Linked DNA regions of Homo sapiens: regions 1, 3 and 4 are each linked to region 2. Evidence: promoter capture Hi-C in 16 types of primary human blood cells and fetal thymus (Javierre and others, 2016). All regions are on one chromosome and are shown on one strand. Each heading gives the region's core, a stretch centred on a gene start or on the middle of the fragment in contact. The rest is flanking DNA. Distances are from core to core; before and after follow the strand shown. Region 1 has its middle 3.6 kb from the start of PDZD2. Region 2 holds the start of GOLPH3 (golgi phosphoprotein 3). Region 3 has its middle 37 kb from the start of PDZD2. Region 4 overlaps DROSHA (drosha ribonuclease III).

What was found. The method cuts DNA at HindIII sites, captures the fragments that hold promoters and counts their contacts. A CHiCAGO score of 5 or more calls a contact.
Region 1: a fragment that was not itself captured here is called in contact with the fragment with the promoter of GOLPH3 in region 2 in 2 of 17 cell types (activated CD4 T cells and non-activated CD4 T cells); the score reaches 7.8 in activated CD4 T cells.
Region 3: a fragment that was not itself captured here is called in contact with the fragment with the promoter of GOLPH3 in region 2 in 1 of 17 cell types (M0 macrophages); the score reaches 5.7 in M0 macrophages.
Region 4: a contact is called between a fragment that was not itself captured here and the fragment with the promoter of GOLPH3 in region 2, in 8 of 17 cell types (naive CD4 T cells, total CD8 T cells, total CD4 T cells and 5 more). The highest score is 13.5, in naive CD4 T cells.

Annotation. Positions count from the first base shown.
Region 1 is chr5:31,633,181-31,637,880 of GRCh38, forward strand. No RefSeq gene overlaps it. Among named protein-coding and RNA genes, the nearest start is that of PDZD2, 3.6 kb to the right of the region's middle. The HindIII fragment of the contact is 3,059 bases long and covers 944-4,002 here.
Region 2 is chr5:32,172,988-32,177,528 of GRCh38, forward strand. GOLPH3 (golgi phosphoprotein 3) reads right to left here and starts at 1,332. Exons shown (of 4, transcript NM_022130.4): 1 at 823-1,332. The coding sequence starts at 1,047. RefSeq lists a silencer at 616-1,225. The HindIII fragment of the contact is 5,568 bases long and covers 339-4,541 here.
Region 3 is chr5:31,600,058-31,604,939 of GRCh38, forward strand. No RefSeq gene overlaps it. Among named protein-coding and RNA genes, the nearest start is that of PDZD2, 37 kb to the right of the region's middle. The HindIII fragment of the contact is 6,111 bases long and covers 1-4,882 here.
Region 4 is chr5:31,518,847-31,523,917 of GRCh38, forward strand. DROSHA (drosha ribonuclease III) reads right to left here. Exons shown (of 36, transcript NM_001382508.1): 6 at 2,277-2,369. Among named protein-coding and RNA genes, the nearest start is that of DROSHA, 11 kb to the right of the region's middle. RefSeq lists an enhancer at 3,332-3,501. The HindIII fragment of the contact is 1,508 bases long and covers 1,264-2,771 here.

The sequences.
Region 1 (4,700 bases), core at 1,223-3,722, 540 kb before region 2:
AAGAGACCTTTAAATTTTTCCAAAGTACTTTCCCATTTATGATCTTGCTGTGGACCCAAGATCGTAATAGACTTTTAGAGATAGGTATTATTACAGAAAGGTGCCCAATGTTACTCAAATTTTACTGTGTTATTGTGATTGGTCACAGAACACAGCACTGGGTCTCTGTTGCTTTTTGGGCTGGGTATCATTAAGCTGACTTTTAGTTCCATGTTCATGTTAGCTCTACCAATAAAGGCAGGTGCTAAGAGAGGTAAAAAGATACAAAGAGGAGTGAAGAAGTACAATTTTAAAAAAATTTTAAAAATGGCAGGGTGTGGTGGCTCACGTCTGTAGTCCCAGCACTTTGGAAAGCCAAGGCAGGAGGATTGCTTGAGTCCAAGAGTTCAAGACCAGCCTTGGCAACATAGTGAGATCCCTTCTCTACAAATAATAAAAAATTAGCTAAGAGTGGTGGGATGCACCTGCAGTCCCAACTACTTGGGCGGCTGAGGTGGGAGGATCGCTTGAGCCTGGGAGGTTGAGGCTGCAGTGAGCCATGATCATGCCACTGCACTCCAGCCTGGGTGACAGAGTAAGAACCTGTCTCAAAAAACAAACAAACCAACAACAACAAAAAAAAACCCAAAGAAAATGGAATAGATACATAAGAAATATAATTTATTTTTATAATTACTTTTTTTGAGATTATTCAGTGGAAAATATCTGGAAGTAGAAGTATCTGATGAAGGAGTAAAAATAGCATGTGATTGACTTAAAATAATCCCTTTCCATAAGTAAGTAATGCAGAACAGAACAAGAATGATCAGCAGGGGAGATAGGAATTAGGGATGAGAATGTGTTGTGCAAATAGCTTACCTAAATCCTGTGGTCTACAAATTTGGATACACGGTGATTTGACTGAATTCTAACATCCAGGGAACAGGGAATGGGGGAGAACCCAAGCTTCCCAACTTTGCGGGGGGCACTACTGTGCCTGGGTGACAGAAGCTGCAAGCCCCAAGAAGACTCAGTGCCATGTCCTGTCTCTTGTGTAAACCAAAATAAAGACAAAGGCCAAGTATAAAACAAAACCTATGTGTGTGTATAACTAAAACAGCTCTCTTTAGATATACTGATAGCAGAGTACTGGTTATGCTAATCAAAACTGAACCTCTGTCTTTCTATCTTTTTTTTTAGTAGGTTTGTTTTGCTAGTGTCTTTTTTTTTTTGAGATGGAGTCTTGCTGTGTCTCCCAGGCTGGAGGGCAGTGGTGCGATCTTGGCTCACTGCAACCTCTGCCTCTCAGGTTCAAGCGATTCTCCTATCTCAGTCTCCTGAGTAGCTGGGATTACAGGCACCTGCCACCACACCCAGCTAATTTTTATATTTTTAGTAGAGATGAGGTTTCGCCATGTTGGCCAGGCTGGTCTTGAACTCCTGACCTCAGGTGATCCACTCAGCTCGGCCTCTCAAAGTGCTGGGATTACAGGCGTGAGCCACCACGCCAGGCCTGTCTTGCTGGTGTCTTAATGTGTGTTAAGCAAGTAAACTCAAAGGTAAATCAAATCCCACCACAGTCCAAAAGAATCTACTTGGATAAACACTACACTCTACCCTATTGCAAAATGATTGAATCATCTATATAAATTGTGAAAGTCATACGTGGTCTGTAGTTACTAGTTTGTAATTCAGTTTTTTCTGCCAAAAATTGTATAAAAAAATTACCGTGGCAACCAATGCTTCAATAGTACAAATGGAAGGCTGAGAGACAAAGATATAAAATAATGGGTTGGCTTGTAAGGGGAAGCCCAGGAGAAAATTACAAATTCTTCACGTGCAGTATTATTAGACCACACTGGAAACAATAAAACACATTTGCATAAAATCCAACGTCACGCTCATGGATACAGTGAAACTCATTTTCAATGTACGTGGATGAAAAGTGCTTACTTAAACCTTTCCCCTAAATATATATTTTAAGACAGTATGGGCTGGGTGCAGTGGCTCACGCCTGTAATCCCAGCACTTTGGGAGGCCGAGGCAGGCGGATCACCTGAGGTCAGGAGTTTGAGACCAGCCTGGCCAACATGGTGGAACCCTGTCTCTACTAAAAATACAAAAATTAGCTGGGGGTGGTGGTGGGCACCTGTAATCCCAAGTACTCAGGAGGCTGAGGCAGGAGAATCACTTGAACCCAGGAGGCAGAGGTTGCAGGGAGCCAAGATCGCGCCATTGCACTCCAGCCTGGGCAAAAAGAGCGACACTTCATCTCAAAAAAAAAAAAAAAGAAAGAAAGAAAGAAAAAGAAAAAAACCAGTATGCATCAAATGCAGGTCCTTTTTTGTGTTTTGGCTAAATAAAATATTTCATCTGAGACGGGATAAATATTACAACATTTTTATCAATGTTTAAAATAAAGTCTTATCTCTACAGTACTATGACCAAGTACTGGAATGTGACCTTGGGCACCCTCTCAGCTGTCATGTCACTCTACTTCAGTGTTTCTCCAAGTTATCCTGTGTGGGCCACCCAAATTACAATCACTGGGGTTCTGGTTAAGGGGCATCCAGGGGCTCCCCAAAGACCAAGTATATAGTGATCTCAGGGGGTGAGTCTGGAGTTTTTTAAATTTTCAAACTTCTGGGAATCCTTAAGTGTAGTCCAGACTGAGATCCACTGACTTAATGTTTTACTACCATCGTCACTCATTTGTTCTTTTTCTTTGAGACGGAGTCTTGCTCTGACTCCCAGAGAGGAGTACAGTGGCGTGATCTTGGCTTACTGCAAACTTCACCTCCCAGGCTCAAGCAATTCTCCTGCCTCAGCCTCCCCAGTAGCTGGGATTACAGGCGCCCGCTATCATGCCCAGCTAACTTTTGCATTTTTAGCAGAAGCTGGGTTTCACCCTGTTGGCCAGGCTGGTCTCGAACTCCTGACCTCAAGTGATCCGCCCCTCTCGGCCTTCCAAAGTGCTGGGATTACAGGCATGAGCCAGGGCACTTGGCCTCATTTGTTCTTTTTAAGCCCCTTTCTTGGCCAGGAGATGGCTCGTTCTAGCGTGAGGTCATGAATGGAAGAGTTAGTGGCCAGGAATTTGTGGAAGAAAGAAAAAAGGGTAATTCGCTAGGTAAACAGGAAGCTAGAATCTGTTTTGGAGATAAAATGAACCCACAGAGGCTGGGAGGAGAAAGGGAATTGAGCCAGTTGTTGACTAAGGCTACTTCTCCTCCCTTGAAATTTACTTGGAAGAGCAGCTGAGGCGGAAAGATGGAAAGCAGTCTTTTCAAGAGTTGGTAAGCAAACCTCCAGTTTTAGTTTCAGCTGCCTGGTCTGTAGATTTTTCTTCATAGAGGGAGAAAGCTCAGAAGTAAACCACATGGCACTGCAATCCATGAGAATCTACTTGGACTCACCTAAACCACGCTACATTCTGTCACTGATATAGCTTGGGATCACACATTTTTTCTTTGTTTATCATTTTAATCTTCCTTTGCTCTGAAGTCTTAGATATTCTATATACAGCCTCCTCCTCCTCCACATCACATATATTATGAGCACTAAATTAAAATGGCAACTTTGATAGAAATACTAATCTGTGACTAAATGTTTAACAAGGGGGCAAAAAGGATTTACATTTTGATCTTCAAACATTGGAAAATAAATGCCCTCAGTTGTCAGCTTTCCAAATTGACAAGACTGCAAGGGCAAAACAAAATTTCCATGCATTTGATTGACCTCTGTGAATTGAGCTATTATTAGCAGATAAGAACTTGCCAAAAATATCTGGAAAATATCAGCTGAAAAGTGATTGAAACGAAGTATTTAAAGCAGGTCAGCAGGGCCATGTCTGAAGGAGACAGATTATAAAATACATCTGTATATATTGTATTTATACATAATATATGCCACATATAACATACATGTATATACCTAACAATTCATTTTAATTCAGCAAATATTTATTGAGTGGCTATTGGGTCGGACACCATGCCACCCTAGGCTTTGGGAACACAAACAATAAGCTTTAAGTTCTCTTACCTCCAAGAACTCACAAGCTAGAAATATGTGAGACAAAACGCCATAATTCCTACAACATAATACACCTGACAAGGGTTAGATGAGCAATTTGCATAAAGTGCTACCATTGCAGCAATTAACAAGGCAGAGGAAACGTGATGTTTGTTCTGATGATCAGAGAAGCCTTTCCAGTAGAGATGACATTTACCTCCTTGGGATTTCAGCAGACACAGGAGAGTGAGAATGTCACTCTGGCAGAGGAAACAGAATTTACAGATTAGGAGTACATGGCTGGAATGAAAGAGTTGGGGATGGAGTGGATAAGAAATAGCAGTGACTACAGTTTGAGTGATACATTTATTTGCATATTCATTGATTCAGCAAACTTTTCATTGGTGCTGAGGGAGGTAGGCCCAAGGTATGTGCTGGGTACAGAGGCTGAGAAAACACGGGACAGAGTGGTGGAAGATGGGCCTGGGATTGTGGAAAAAACAGAAAGCACCAGCCCTGTTTGATCCTTCTAGAAGGATTTTTTTGTAGTGTCCCAATGATACCTTTCATTGATAATGGTTACCATTTCATTGAGCACCTCCTAAGTGCTGTGCTGAATAGCTGTGTTACTGCTAGTTCCAGCAATCCTGCATGGTAGGTGTTTTCTCTATTTACACATAGGAAGAGAAGCTCTGAGTGCCTGAGTGCCC
Region 2 (4,541 bases), core at 82-2,581:
GGACACTGAAGTGAAAATAAACGCTTTCAAAGTCAGAATACAAAGAATTATCTATTGCAACTTCAACCCACCTGAAGCTTTGAGGCCTCTGATCAACTCACAAACCTACATTTCAAGCACTCGATGAAAAAGCCCTTTCTTAAGACGGCAAGACTTTGAGATTCATCAACTGATAAAATATAAAAGCGATACTAAAAATAATCTCTCACCTAATGTAAGTTCACCTAGAAAGTCATTTACCAGGAGGTTTCATGAGAAACTTAACTTAACTTTACTCAGTAAAAGAGCTTTTCCCTCTATTACCACTTCGCCTACGTTTTTCGTAATTCCCAACAGTAAGCTTTAACTGAAGAAGAAGAAAAAAAAAACATCCCCAGCAAGCAGATCCGGGCACCCCTCCCAGGTCCTAAAGCCTGCAAAAACCCAAAGAGTTCGTGGCGCTGGTGGCTCCAGCTGTTAGTTTCCCGGGCAGTCTCCGGGTTGGATTTGCACCCTGGGGTCTACACGGGTTAAAAACGCGGAAAAAAGGCGACGAAGAAATACAAACTGCCAGGGTGTCGAAATGAAAGGAGCGACTGTGAAAGGGGTAAGGAAAAATCCAAGCCATCTCTACGGGGAGGATCCAGAAAGCACCAGCCGCGCCAGGGGGTCAACCAACTCCGACACCGCTCGGCGTCAGCTGGGCGCCACCAGGCGCGGACTTCGGAGCGAGGGCAGGTGCGCGGGCCGGAAGCCTCGGGCGCTCACCTGGCACCTACCTGGAGCTCACCTGGCGCCCGGGCCCCGCGCCGCCGCCCCCCGCCCAGCCCGCCGCGCCCGCACCTCGCGGTCCTTGAGGCCCAGCAGGAGCACTTCCTCCATCAGGGTCAGCCGCGTTTCCTTGGAGTCGCCCTTGTCGTCGTCGTCCTGCTCGTCGCGGCGGCTCTGCGCGTCGTCCTCGCTGCTGCCGGCGCCGCCGCCCGCCGCCCGCTCCTTGTCGGCGGCGTTGCGGGAGGCCTCGGTGCGCCGCTGCACCAGGCCGGAGCTGCGCTGGGTCAGCGAGGTCATGGCTCCCGCCGAGGCGCCGAGCCGGGCCGAGAGGGTCGCAGGACCGACCGGGTCGCCCTCCTCCTCCCCGCGCGGCCTCCGATCCGGGTTTCCGTGTTAAATCCGGACGCCGGGGCGACGTCCGTCGGCAGCAGGGCCGGGGGCAGTCATGAGGAAACAGGTCAGGGCGAAGCGGGCTGGCCGGGCGTCGGCGGGGCAGGAGAGGAGCGCCTTCCTGCCTGTGGCCGCAGTCCCCGAAACACCCCGAGCTCCAAGGCGGAGGCGGCGGCGGCGCCTTTCCAATATGGCGGCCCCGGCTGACGTCACCGGAGGATGTGGCAGAGTCGGCGCGGGAGAGCTGGGCCGGGAGGCGCCGGAAGCGGCGGCCGGGGATCCGCTGCCACTGCAGCCTACACCCTTCCCGGCCCTCGGTGCTTGTCTTTTCTTTGGCGTTCCTGCGCCCCCTGACCCGCGGTCCTGCAGTCCTGCTCCCGTGACGTGCCCTCCCTCCTTCCGTTCCCCGTTTCCCCTTCACTACCCAGGGCTGGAGCCTGAACCTGGCGGGGCCCCCCGTGAATGGAAGAGCCTGGGCCACGCGAAGGTGGACCCCACTCAGCCTCCAGCCGTGCCCTCCACGCCCCAGACACCGCCGTCTTCGGAGGCGACTCCGCGGTCGTGTGGACGGGGTCCCATTTGGACTCCGGGGTCTGCAGGATCGGCAGGAAGGACTTTGCTCTCTGCTGCTGGGCGGGGAGGGGTACGCTATCTGCCGGGACTCCCTAACCCTTTAGAAGGAGCAAGTGCGTCCAAATGGTTTGAAAGTGGACCTTTATTGTTTTCCAGGAGTAAGAAGATAGAACAGTTGACCAGTTTTGTTTGTAAAACTTCTTTCCTTGCCTCGGACTTGTGCTATAAAGTGACCAGGGCGTAGTGAGTACAGTTAGTACCGCACACGTTAGCACGCTCGACCTTAACGATCTTTTTATAGAGACAATAAACCTGCAGCGTTTCATGCCACGTCTTTGTACGCATCGGATGTCTCTCCGTGTAGTTACTAGGTGAAATCCTCTTGGCGTGCGCAAATTAGGTTAAAAAAATAGCTGTCAAACCTGAGACAGGAGTTGGAGGAGTAGAGGGTGGCGCTTGTTAAGTGAAACATTTAACCAGGAATGGTATTGTGTGCCATCCTGTATTAAACAATGTATGGACAGAGTGGAACAACAGCAAAGCAAAAAATAAAAATTTTTTAAAAAAAGTGATCATGGGCTGTGGCTAAAGAGTGCTTTAGATGGATTCTTCTCTTCCACAAATCCATTATCCAGAACTGCTGCTGCCTACCATCCCATGCCCTGGAAAGTGACAGTGCTAAATGAAGGGAAGAGAGGGTCCAGGGGGCACACCAAGTAGACCTTCCCTTTTTCCCACCTGTCTTGGTGAAGGTCGATTTCACCTCAACCAATTTCTCCCATTCACACCCTCTTTTTTTTTTTTTTTTTTTTTTTTTTGAGACGGAGTCTTGCTCTGTTGCCCAGGCTGGGGTGCAGTGGCACAATCTCGGCTCACTGCAAGCTCTGCCTCCCGGGTTCACGCCATTCTCCTGCCTCAGCCTCCTGAGTAGCTGGACTACAGGCGCCCGCCACCACGCCTGGCTAATTTTTTGTATTTTTAGTGGAGACGGGGTTTCACCGTGTTAGCCAGGATGGTCTCGATCACCTGACCTCGTGATCCGCCGGCCTTGGCCTCCCAAAGTGCTGGGATTACAGGCGTGAGCCACCGCGCCAGCCCACACCCTCTTTGGACCTTTTTTCTTCATCTTTTCTGATTTTACCAAATGTTGTAGCTTGAAATATTTCTTTGTAAAATAAATGTAATTAATTTATTATGTGAAAAAAGTTAATCAGGAGTAGTGGCCCACATCTGTAGTCCCAGGTCTTCGGGAGGCTGAGGCAGGAGAACCGCTTGAGCCCAGAATTTGAGGCTGCCATGAGGGTGATCGTGCCACTGCACACCAGCCTGAGAGACAGAGCAAGACCCTGTCTCAAAAAAAAAAAAAAAAAATTGGCTGGGCGCGTTGGCTCACGCCTGTAATCCTAGCACTTTGGAAGGCCAAGGCGGACGGATCAGGAGGTCAGGAGATCGAGACCATCCTGGCTAACACGGTGAAACCCCGTCTCTACTAAAAATACAAAAAATTAGCCGGGCGTGGTGGCGGGCCCCTGTAGTCCCAGCTACTCGGGAGGCTGAGGCAGGAGAATGGCGTGAACCCCGGAGGCGGAGCTTGCAGTGAGCAGAGATTGCGCCACTGCACTCCAGCCTGGGTGACAGAGCGAGACTCCGTCTCAAAAAAAAAAAAAAATTACTTGACTAATATAGTCAAGTATGTAGTTCAAAGAGTACAAAGATATGTGTAGTGAAAATCTCCCTCCCAGCTCTGCCCCTGTTCACCCAGTTGTTCTCCTTTCTCTCCTGAAGGTTTTAATGCCAACAAATCCTCTGATACTCCTCCCCTCAAAATGTGAAGCCTAATTTCCCTCCCCCTGAGTGTGGGCCAGACTTAGTGACTCTCTTGAAATGAATAGAATGTGGCCAACATGACTGTGTGGCACTTCTCAGGTCATGAAAGTCTATGCAGCTTTTTTCCTCCCCAGCTGCCCTCCACCCCCAGCCATCATGATGGGTGGGGGTGGAGGGCAGCTGGGGAAGAAGTGAGGGAGGAAGGAAGGAGATATTTTAAAAACAGGAAGAGGAAGAAAGGATATTTTAGGAAGGAAAAAAGAAGGAATTTTAGGAATGAGAATATTCCTAATTACAACAATGAGTGTTACTTTTTAAAAAATTTTTATTTATTTATTTATTTATTTTTGAGACAGAGTCTCATTCTGTCGCCCAGGCTGGAGTGCAGTGGCGTGATCTCGGCTCACTGCAACCTCCACCTCCAGGTTCAAGCAATTCCCCTGCCTCAGCCTGCCGAGTAGCTGGGATTACAGGCACATGCCACCACGCCCAGCTAATTTATTTATTTATTTATTTATTTATTTTTTTGAGACGGAGTTTTGTTGCCCAGGCTGGAGTGCAATGGCGCAATCTCGGCTCACCGCAACCTCTGCCTCCCAGGTTCAAGCGATTCTCCTGCCTCAGCCTCCCGAGTAACTGGGATTACAGGCATGTGTCACCACGCCTGGCTAATTTTGTATTTTTAGTAGAGACGGGGTTTCTCCATGTTGGTCAGGCTGGTCTCGAACTCCTGACCTCAGGTGATCTGCCCGCCTCGGCCTCCCAAAGTGCTGGGATTACAGGCGTGAGCCACCGCGCCTGGCACGCCCAGCTAATTTTTTTGTATTTTTAGTAGAGACGGGGTTTCACCATGTTGGCCAGACTGGTCTTGAACTCCTGACCTCAGGCAATCCAGCAGCCTCGGCCTCCCAAAGTGCCGGGATTACAGGCATGAGCCACCGCGCCTGGCCTTGATTGTTTGTTTATTGCCTGCTGAGATGTGCCAGGCGCGGTCTCCAGCA
Region 3 (4,882 bases), core at 831-3,330, 570 kb before region 2:
TCCTTACAAGACCGTTCCGTATATGAGAGCAATTTGATTGGTTACAGATTGCTACATCCCAAGGAAGATTACTCTATTGCTCCATGAGGGAGGTAGTGATCTGAGGGGGTCTCATGTCTGAGGCCATTTGGTCTTCTTAATCATTTACAAGAAAACAAGGCAGAAGTTGCAGCTGCATGCTGCGTGACTCAGACTACATAGCCACCCTCCACTTGAAGCTCAGAATAATTCAAATGTCCAACAGCTTTAAGTTTGAATTATTTAATTTCACAGGAGGTACATTTTTTGAAGACTTGTATGTGTAAAAATGTCTCTTTTCTACCCTTTTACTTGATAGCAAATTTGGCTAAATATGTAATTCTTGGTTAAACAAAAAATAACTTTCCCTTGGAAATTTGAAGGTATATCTCCATTATCTTCTACCTTCTATTTCCATGAGAAGTTTGATGCCATTCTTATTCACAATCTTCTATTCATTAGTTTTCTGTCTCCACTCTATTTCTCCACTCCTACCAGAGCTTTTAGAGACTTCTGTTTATCCCTAGGGTTTGAAATTTTGTAATAATAAGTCCTTTGTTGTCACTGGTTTATGTTATTTGATGGGAATTTTTTTTTTTTTTTTTTTTTTGAGACGGCGTCTCACTCTGTCACCAAGGCTGGAGTGCAGTGGCATGAGGATGGCCCATGGCAGCTTCGATCTCTTGGGCTCAGGTGATTCGTCTACCTCAGCCTCCCGGGTAGCTGGGACTACAGGAATGTGCCACCACGCCTAGCTAAGTTTTTGTATTTTTTGTAGAGACAGGGTTTCACTATGTTGCCCAGGCTGGTCTCGAACTCCTGTGCTCAAGCAATCCTCCTGCCTTGGCTTCCCAAAGTGCTGGGATTACAGGCGTGAGCCATCGTGCCTGGCCTTGTGGGATATTTGTTTGTTTGTTCATTTGTCTTTTACTCATTGGGCTAGATACCAAAAAGTTCTTTTTGAGAAAAGGCTCATGTTCTTCAGCTCTGAAAAATTCTCTTACGTTATTTTATTAATACTTTTCTCCACCAGTCTTTTCTGTTCTCTTTCTGGCACTCCTATTAATTAGTTGTCAGGCTTCCTGGATTGAGCATCTAATTTCTTATGTTTTCTCTCTTATTGTCCAATTATTTGCCACTTTGCTCTGGTTTTGGATTCCCTAACTATACCCTCTACTTTACTATTGAGATTTTCATTTCTGCCGTCTAATTTTTATTTTCCTGATGTTTTTGTTGTTGTTATTTGAATACTCTTAAGTTCATTTATATTTGAGAATGGGACACAGAAAAGCTGAGAGCTGGCCGGGCGCGGTGGCTCACGCCTGTAATCCCAGCACTTTGGGAGGCCGAGGCGGGCGGATCACGAGGTTAGGAGATCAAGACCATCCTGGCTAACATGGTGAAGCCCTGTCTCTGCTAAAAATACAGAAGAATTGGCTGGGCTTGGTGGCGGGCGCCTGTGGTCCCGGCTACTCGGGAGGCTGAGGCGGGAGAGTGGCATGAACCCGGGAAGTGGAGCCGAGATCGTGCCACTGCACTCCAGCCTGGGCGACAGAGCAAGACTCTGTCTCAAAAAAAAAAAAAAAAAAAAAAAAAAAAAAAAGCTGAGAGCTGTGTTTGTGAACAAGTGTGTCGAGAGTGATCAGGTGTGGGCAATGACCATTATCTCAGGGAACTCCCAAAGGCCAAAATGTGGAGGTCTTTTCTCTATGACTATTTAATTTCTCTAGAGGAGGAACCTGTAATTTCTTGCCTACCTGGTAGATAACCTTGCTGCTGTCCTTCTGAGAGAGGAAGAGAGAGTTGGGGTAGAGATGGGAAGAATAATAGTCTTGTTTCTTCTTGATCATCCTACAGCAAAGAAGAAAAAGTGACAAGCCACAATAACAAACCTAGACTTCCCAATTATCTGTTCAATACCTCGCTTTAAAAAATATGTACATTTGTACAGATAATCAGGGACACTAGATATCTGTTTTTACATCAGTTCTGTTTTCAGCCCCACTTCTTACTCTTGTCCACCAATGCATGTCCACTCTTTGCTCCCAAAGTTCTTCAGGGTTCTATCACTCAAATAATCTTCCTTTTTGCCCATAATTTCCTCTGGAAACCCTTTAAGATATGCCTACCTCTCACTCTACATCAACAACCACTCCTTTGGTGTTCATCAACTGATAGCCCTTCTACCCTTTATATCATCATTTGGGCTTACATATTTTCCTTTCATTAGCTGTCATTACAGAGGAGTCTCAAAAGAGACAAAAAATAAACAAGTGGATCAACTATTTTTCATCAAAAATATTTAGAAACAATAAGATCTTTTTGTAGAGGGTCATAGCGTGTTTTTTGTTTTTGTTTTTTGAGACAGAGTCTCACTCTGTCTCCCAGGCTGGAGTGCAGTGGCACAATCTTGGCTCACTGCCACCTTTGTCTCCTGGGTTCAAGCAATTCTCCTGCCTCATCCTCCCGAGTAGCTGGGACTACAGTCATGTGCCATCAAACCCGGCTAATTTTTTTTGTATTTTTAGTAGAGACATGGTTTCACCATGTTGGTCAGGCTCATCTCAGACTCCTGACCTCAAATGATCTGCCCGCCTTGGCCTCCCAAAGTGCTGGGATTATAAGCATGAGCCACCGCGCCCATAGTGTCTTAAGTGTCTTAAGCCCATAGTGTCTTAAGATTGCAGTCAAAGAGAAATACTTTAACGAAAGCAATATTCTGTATGAAAGCATATATGCTAAGTTATTCATTCTGGCTTTACTACCTGCTAGTTATATGATTTGGAGCAAATTATTGGATCTCTCAAGAGCCTCAGTTTCCTCCACTTTAAAACGCAATTCATAACACCTCAAGTATTGTCAAGAGTTATGAGCACATATAATATGTTCAGTCAATATAAGTTCCCTTTTTGCTTTGAAATGAACAAGTAAAAGATGACAAGGAGTGATAAAGCTCATCAAGACTGGACTTCTTTGGTAAAAGCAAAGCTCAAAAGAGTAGGTTGATGACCACTTTACTGAGTGACATCTTACTAGGGGGTCCATTGCAAAGAAAAGAGCATTTTCTTTTTGATGGGTTTTACTCAATTGTTTTCTTGTTAAGTGTTGCCTTTTAAAACCACACTGTTCCTTTCTCTTCCTCAAGCCATTTTCTCCCCTCTTTTTTCTGCTTCACTAGTCTTACTTGTTTGAAATAAAGAGAGATGAAGTGTGTCAGCCATGATCCCAGCAGAAAGCAGGCTTCACTTCAACTAGTTCCAAAGACAGGACTTTAGTAAGGGAATTTTTTTCAGAGATATGGATAAAGGAACCAACAAAGGTTATGGAGACACCCAGAGGCTAGCAAGCAAGGGTAGCCATGACCACATGAAGGGCAAAGGAGACAGCGGGGAGGAAATAGAATTCCTGGAGTCTGGTGAGAGCTGGAGATGGGAAGGTGCCATCCAGCAGAATCGATAGTTGTGGAGAGGTGTCACTACTATCAGAGGCCTAACACCAAAACAGAGAGGAAGAGGGGAACAAATAACCCATATGTTTCTCTTCTCCCACCTTCTGATCTCCTGCTAGGGTATCCCATTGGCTACTGGAAGCCAGTTGTCAAGAAAGCCTGGGATGCTGGGCACAGTGGCTCACGCCTGTAATCCCAGTACTTTGGGAGGCTGAGGTGGGCGGATCACCTGAGGTCAGGAGTTAAGACTAGCCTGGACAACATGGTGAAACCCTGTCTCTATTAAAAATACAAAAATTAGCCAGGCGTGGTGGTGGGCACCTGTAATCCCAGCTACTCGGGAGGCTGAGGCAAGAGAATCACTTGAATCTGGCAGGCGGAGGTTGCAGTGAGCTGAGATCATACCACTGCACTCCAGCCAGGGTGACAGGAGCGAGACTCTGTCTCAAAAAAAAAAAAAAAGAAAGAAAGAAAGAAAAGAAAGCCTGGGAGATATCCTCTCAGGGCCCTGAGCAGAGCTGAGAGAGCCTCTGCAGGGGACAAAAGGAGAATATCGGTATATGAAGATTCTAAAAATATCTGTTGCATTACTTGGGGGGGAATCAAGAAGTGTGAAAAGCCTAAACATTCTCAGTAATATAAAGTGGTTGAAATAGAAAACGTTAAGCCATCTTATGAAGAAAAAAATTATTCACTTTACCTTTGATGCCTGTCATATGTAGAAATAGATTAGAACAGAAATGCAGGAATTTCCATTTAGCAAATAATATTGTTTCATATTGCATGTTTCATGCCTTAAGGTGACTCCTAATTTATCACCTCAGTGAGGGAACCAACTGCCACTCAGGGAAAAAAACTCAAGAGCAAAGGAGTCAGCTCTGCCTTAGTGGAACAGACCAGGTTAAGGTGTCAAGCAACTGTTTCTATGAGCGCAATTTCAGGAAATGTCTCAGCCCTGTCGTGGATGTCTCTAAGGGTTTGTTTAAAAATTCAAATGCCATTGATTTATCTATTGTATGCTGAGAAATCCACTGTGCCTTCAGTCACAAATTCTAGATGATGCTTAGTTTAACTTGCTCCTGGAAGTGAGACAATTTATTCCTTGTATTTTACTTAAAGCCTAATGGTATGCCAGGCTGCTTTCCCCTTTATTGACACAAAAGATCTATTATAATATTTTATCTAAAAAGTATGCCCCGCTTTAAAAAGCTGTGGCTAACATTTTGGTGCACTGTATCCAGTAAAACTATCTGTCAAACAGTGTGTCCTCTTTCAAGCTAGTGGTGTTTTGTTTTTGTTTTTTAACCAGGAATCAATAGATGGGACACAGAGGCTGGGAAACTCCAAAAATTGATTGCAAAATGTTTGGCATGCATGCAGTTTTTCTGGGAAAAAAGCTATTGTTCCCATAAATAC
Region 4 (5,071 bases), core at 768-3,267, 650 kb before region 2:
GAAACACAGGCAAAAGACATCCTCACCCATCCTTTTAAGCAGGCGTTGTGAATGATGTAATGAATGGTCAGGGTCAGTTGTTGTGAACATCAGTTAATATTTTTTTTAACACTTTGAGAAGGGCATTTCAACACAGAAACAAAAGATCTTTTTTAGGTAAGTGTCTCAGGCACTCCAAAATTCAAAATCCAAACTCCCAATGTTTCTTCTTACCAATATGCCACAGTGCAAACTGGTAAATTTTCCCCCTCACAGTATTTCCATTTCTAATTTTTATTTTCTGCTGCGTTAGTCAGAACTTACAGAATTCAAGTCTACCTTCTCTGCAAGCTACCAGGCATTAGAGAAGAAACCATTAAACCGAGGCTATTTCCAGCACTTATACATTAAAAATCATCCACCTCAAATAGGTCCTCAATGATGTCCACTGACACAATACTCTGGCTTTTCTCCTGTCTCCTCTCCTCCTCCTCAGGCCCTCTTGTCATCTTTCCTAATTAATCCCATCTAACCCATGGCATTTCATCCTTCCTAATTAATCTCATCTAATCCAGAGCAACATGTAAGTGTCCTATCAAACGCACTTACAGCACTTAACTTTCCTTTTCCTATTAAGTGGGGGCCTTTGTTAATGCCTATATCACCCATACCAGTACAATACCCGGGACACACAAAAACACCATGTTTTTAATTACCATGTTGATTGTATCACAAGGATATTCAGTAACAACGATAAGCAATGGGGCCTCCTTGCCTTTTTTCAAATTTGTATGGGAAAGGCCTGCAGGTTTCAACACCACATTTGACTCTTTGGGGATGGTATCCATCAGGTTCATCGTGAGCTACCATTCTTCATCATGTTAAAGACAACTGTTAATATTTCTAGTTTACTAGTTTTTACTCACATATGGATGCTGATTTTAGTTTAAATACCTAAAAGGTAAGTACTGAGATAACCCTACAGATTTTGACACATACAATACAGATTTTCTAATATTAACTTTTCTATCCATGCAGTCTTGGAATAAACTCTATCTGTTATTTTAACAAACTACTGAAAACATTTGCTAATATCCTAATTCGTGTTTTTATATCCATATTTGTAAGAGAGATTGCTGTGTCGTTTTTGTGTCATTTTTTTTCCCTTGGTTAGGTTTTGCCATCTGGTTTTTCCTGCTACTACAGAATGAGCTGAGCTTTCCTTCCATCTTTTTTTAGTGTTCAAGACCACTTTAAAGCTTTTTTTAGAGGTGGTGCAAAGTAAGCTTTTTCCATTTTTCGAGTTATTGACCTATTAAAGTTTTCTGCTTCTTGTGTGAAATTATTTTTGTTTTCTTAGAAATCAACCCATCACATTCAAGTTAATTTTTTAAACGGTTTTAAATTTTTTAATTTCTTTTCATTCCTGTAACAATACACTTTCTCAAACCTAATGTTATGTAGATTTTTCTTTTATTTCCCACTTTAAAAATTGTATTTGCATTTACTTACAATATAGTTATATCACTGTAGTTCTATTTCCATTTCATTAATTTATCTTTAAATCCCTTTTTCTGCTTTTCTTAAGCTCCACCAATTTCTATAGCCAAGTGCTCAGATAATAATTATATACATAGTTACCATTTATTTGGCACTTACTTCAGGCCCAGTTCTAAGTGTTTGACATGCATTATCTCAATGACCCCTTATCACTCAAGAAGGTACATATAACTGTCCTTATTTTACAAACGAAGACACTGATAACTTTGCCCAGTAATAAAATTGGGAGAGCTAATAACTGACCCCGAATCTGTCAGATTCTAGAGTGCTGTTCTTCATTACCATCATATTAATGTAAGACCACAAAATTTTACTTCGGGATATAGAATTGATTACACCCTTTAAGTTTTGGGTGATAGCAATCTCAATGTCATTTTCTAATGAAAATATGACTGCAGTTTTGCTCTTTTTTTCTGAAACATGTAAATTTAAGAGCATAATTATGAATTTCCAAGGTTTTTTAAAATGATTAATGTATAGTTTTATAGCACTGTGGTCAGAAAAAGTGGTCTGTATAATTTCTAATTTTTGGAAATTTATCAAGATTTTCCTTGTGCATAATCAATGCATCTTGAAAGTAAAGTCTTTTAAATTACAGTCTGCTTTAGCTTTTCACAGGTCATCTTGGACAGACTCTGAGGCCATTATGAAGACTTGGCTGTTGCTCCATACAAGCACAAAATCTGAATTCAAGGAGATAATCCTATGACTTCTTTCAGTGTCAACTCCTTGCTTACCTTCCAGATCTCTTATACTCTTTTTTGTAGGACCTTTCCAGAGATGGTGATCTTCGGTTGTCTCGATGCCTGTGTCTCTCCCGTTCTCGCTCTCTTAAAGGAATTAATACACAGAGCTGTTTTCAACAGAAAGACTCAAAAACACCATCTCTTTTCACTGAATTCATCTTGTAAATAAATGGACCACATCTAGGAATTTTTCAGGCACTGTTCACTGGGGGACATTTTTATGCCTTCTTAATTTATTAGAGGATAAAGGAGCTTTTCACTTTACAGAAGTTAACTAACTTGGAGAATTTTTGCAGTTTTCTTTAAAGAAAGAAGTCATACATGATGCTACGCAATAATGGGAATTTTATCCTAATCTTCCCTTAAAACCTTGCAATCAGCCAATCCTTGGTTATTTAACCTAGAGGGAAAACTCTAAAGAACTCCACATCCTATTGATTTCTAAAAAATGCTCTATTTTACCTATCAAATAAATGTAAATTATAAAGCTTTTATAGTGAAAATTAGGACAAGGTTCTATAATGAAAGAGCTCTTAATGCTTATGGCTTATAGGCTTGAGTTGTAGATCTAGCTATCACTAACCTGCCATGAGGCCATGACTAAGTCACTTGAATGCTATTTTTCATCTGGAAAAAAAACTAAATAGAGATGTTGGGCTTACTTAATGTAAAAAAAAATAGATGAGGAATTTTTAAAACCTTCCAATGTAAAACTGGGGTTTAATAATATTAATAGCTTTTGAGCCTATTTAACAATGAGGACCTAGAAGAGAAATCTGAACTCTAGTGTGTCTGAATCAGAACTACAAGTCTAAAGGAAGTAACCTTCCAATCTTAGAACAGGAAAAATAAAATGCTATATTAACCTGAGTCCAGAAAGAAGACCATTAAAATGTTTGAACTCAAAAATATCCCCCAACCTATCACCAAACAGAAATGTCAATACATTGAAAATAGAACTTACAAAACTGACAGAGATCGGTGAGTGCTTAGGTATTAAAATAGAAATTGCTTTCCACTTAAAGATTCCCCTGTTCTAAAGGAAGACTCCTTTGAATAATGTTTCTGATATATATACAATCCTCAGATATATACCAGCTATCCCAAATAAAGCAGCCAGAGATTTGGATTCTACATTCTTCATCTCATACACTTCTAAAATCAGAGTTTACATTTGGGCAGTAAATCTTAGTTATTGTATAGAAATTAGTGAACCATGCCACATGTCAAAGATATATGTAATTTGTAATGGCACGGCTGTTGAAAAAAATAATTGCGTACATTTCCAAATAAAAACTCTAATTAGAGGATATTTCTAATATATTTTTTTTTACCATATAGCCAATAGAATTTTGCATTTAAGAATAACACTTCTAATGATGACTGGTACCTCTGAGTGGGTAGGACTTGAAAAGACCAATTTGGATATAAATCACATTAGTAACACTATTAAGACAAATTCTTTTAAAGCAAGAAAAGCTATGTTTGTGTTACTTTTCCCAAGATTCTTCCTTGTTTGCAAACATTAAGATATTCCTTAGGTACATTAGGGTAGTTCTCCAGTAGCTACACATTTACTGTCACAAGGTCAGCCATGAGAATTCTTGCGTGGTAGCACTCCCTAGCTAGGTGAAGCCCAGGGCACACATCCTTACCACTCTGCTCAACAGTGTGCTTGGTGCACTACATCTGCCTGTAGCAATTTCTTTCCTTATCCCTGGAGTAACTTTCATTTTTCATGACAACAAATACATATATCCACTTTTTCACAGACCTTTTCTAAAAACAGTCCACCCTAAGACAATCTTGCAATTGTTATTCAACCACATTTTGGAGGCAGAGAAAAATAGGGAACACAGAATTTGTAAAAGGATAGATTCACTTACCCCAAGAAGCAGGGGAGGGGCAACAAGAAAACAGACTATAGAATTTGCATAAACTTAACACAATGCAAATTTATGAAGTTTCAGTTTTCCAAATATACTTCTAGAAGTTATATTAGGACTTCATGTGCTCCATGTTTGTTTCACAGAAGCATGCCATATAAGACAGATGACTGACATTCCACCTAATTAATATCCCAAAGGGAGCCAATTATAATGTAGCTATGCCACTAGGCAGCTCCAGAGCAAATGCCCCAAGCACATTATAAAACAACTCGAATATAAATAAAGCCCGTTTTAGAAAGATATAGATCCTCATAGTAAAGGAGTGTGGTTTAGGATAAATCAGGTTAGAAGTAATTCTTACGACACTTGATTTTACTGAGATCCGCAATTCACAGGACATCTGAGTTTCTTCAAACAAATACATAACTCCAAGTTGAAGCCTTGATGGAAAAATTTAGGATTTACAGCAGAGCCCTGACAACTCCTCTAATTATAGCATATCAAAACAGAGGCGGAAATACAACACTATCTAGAATGTTTGCTGCAAAATGTTTTCCCAGAAGCAAAATTATTAACAATTACTTTAGAGTCTGAAGAAAACTATTTACAAACTATTTACTCTTTCCAGTTAACATTTGCACTATAAAACTGTAACATTAACTATCACATGCCAGCCAGGAGCGGTGGCTCACACATGTAATCCCAGCACTTTAGGAGGCTGAGGCAGGCAGATCACCTGAGGTCAGGAGTTCGAGACCAGCCTGACCAACATGGTGAAACCCCATCTCTACTAAAAATACAAAAATTAGCCGGGCTTGGTGGCAGGTGCCTGTAATCCCAGCTACTCAGGAGGCTGAGACAGGAGAATCGCTTGAACCCGGGAGGCAGAGGTTGCAG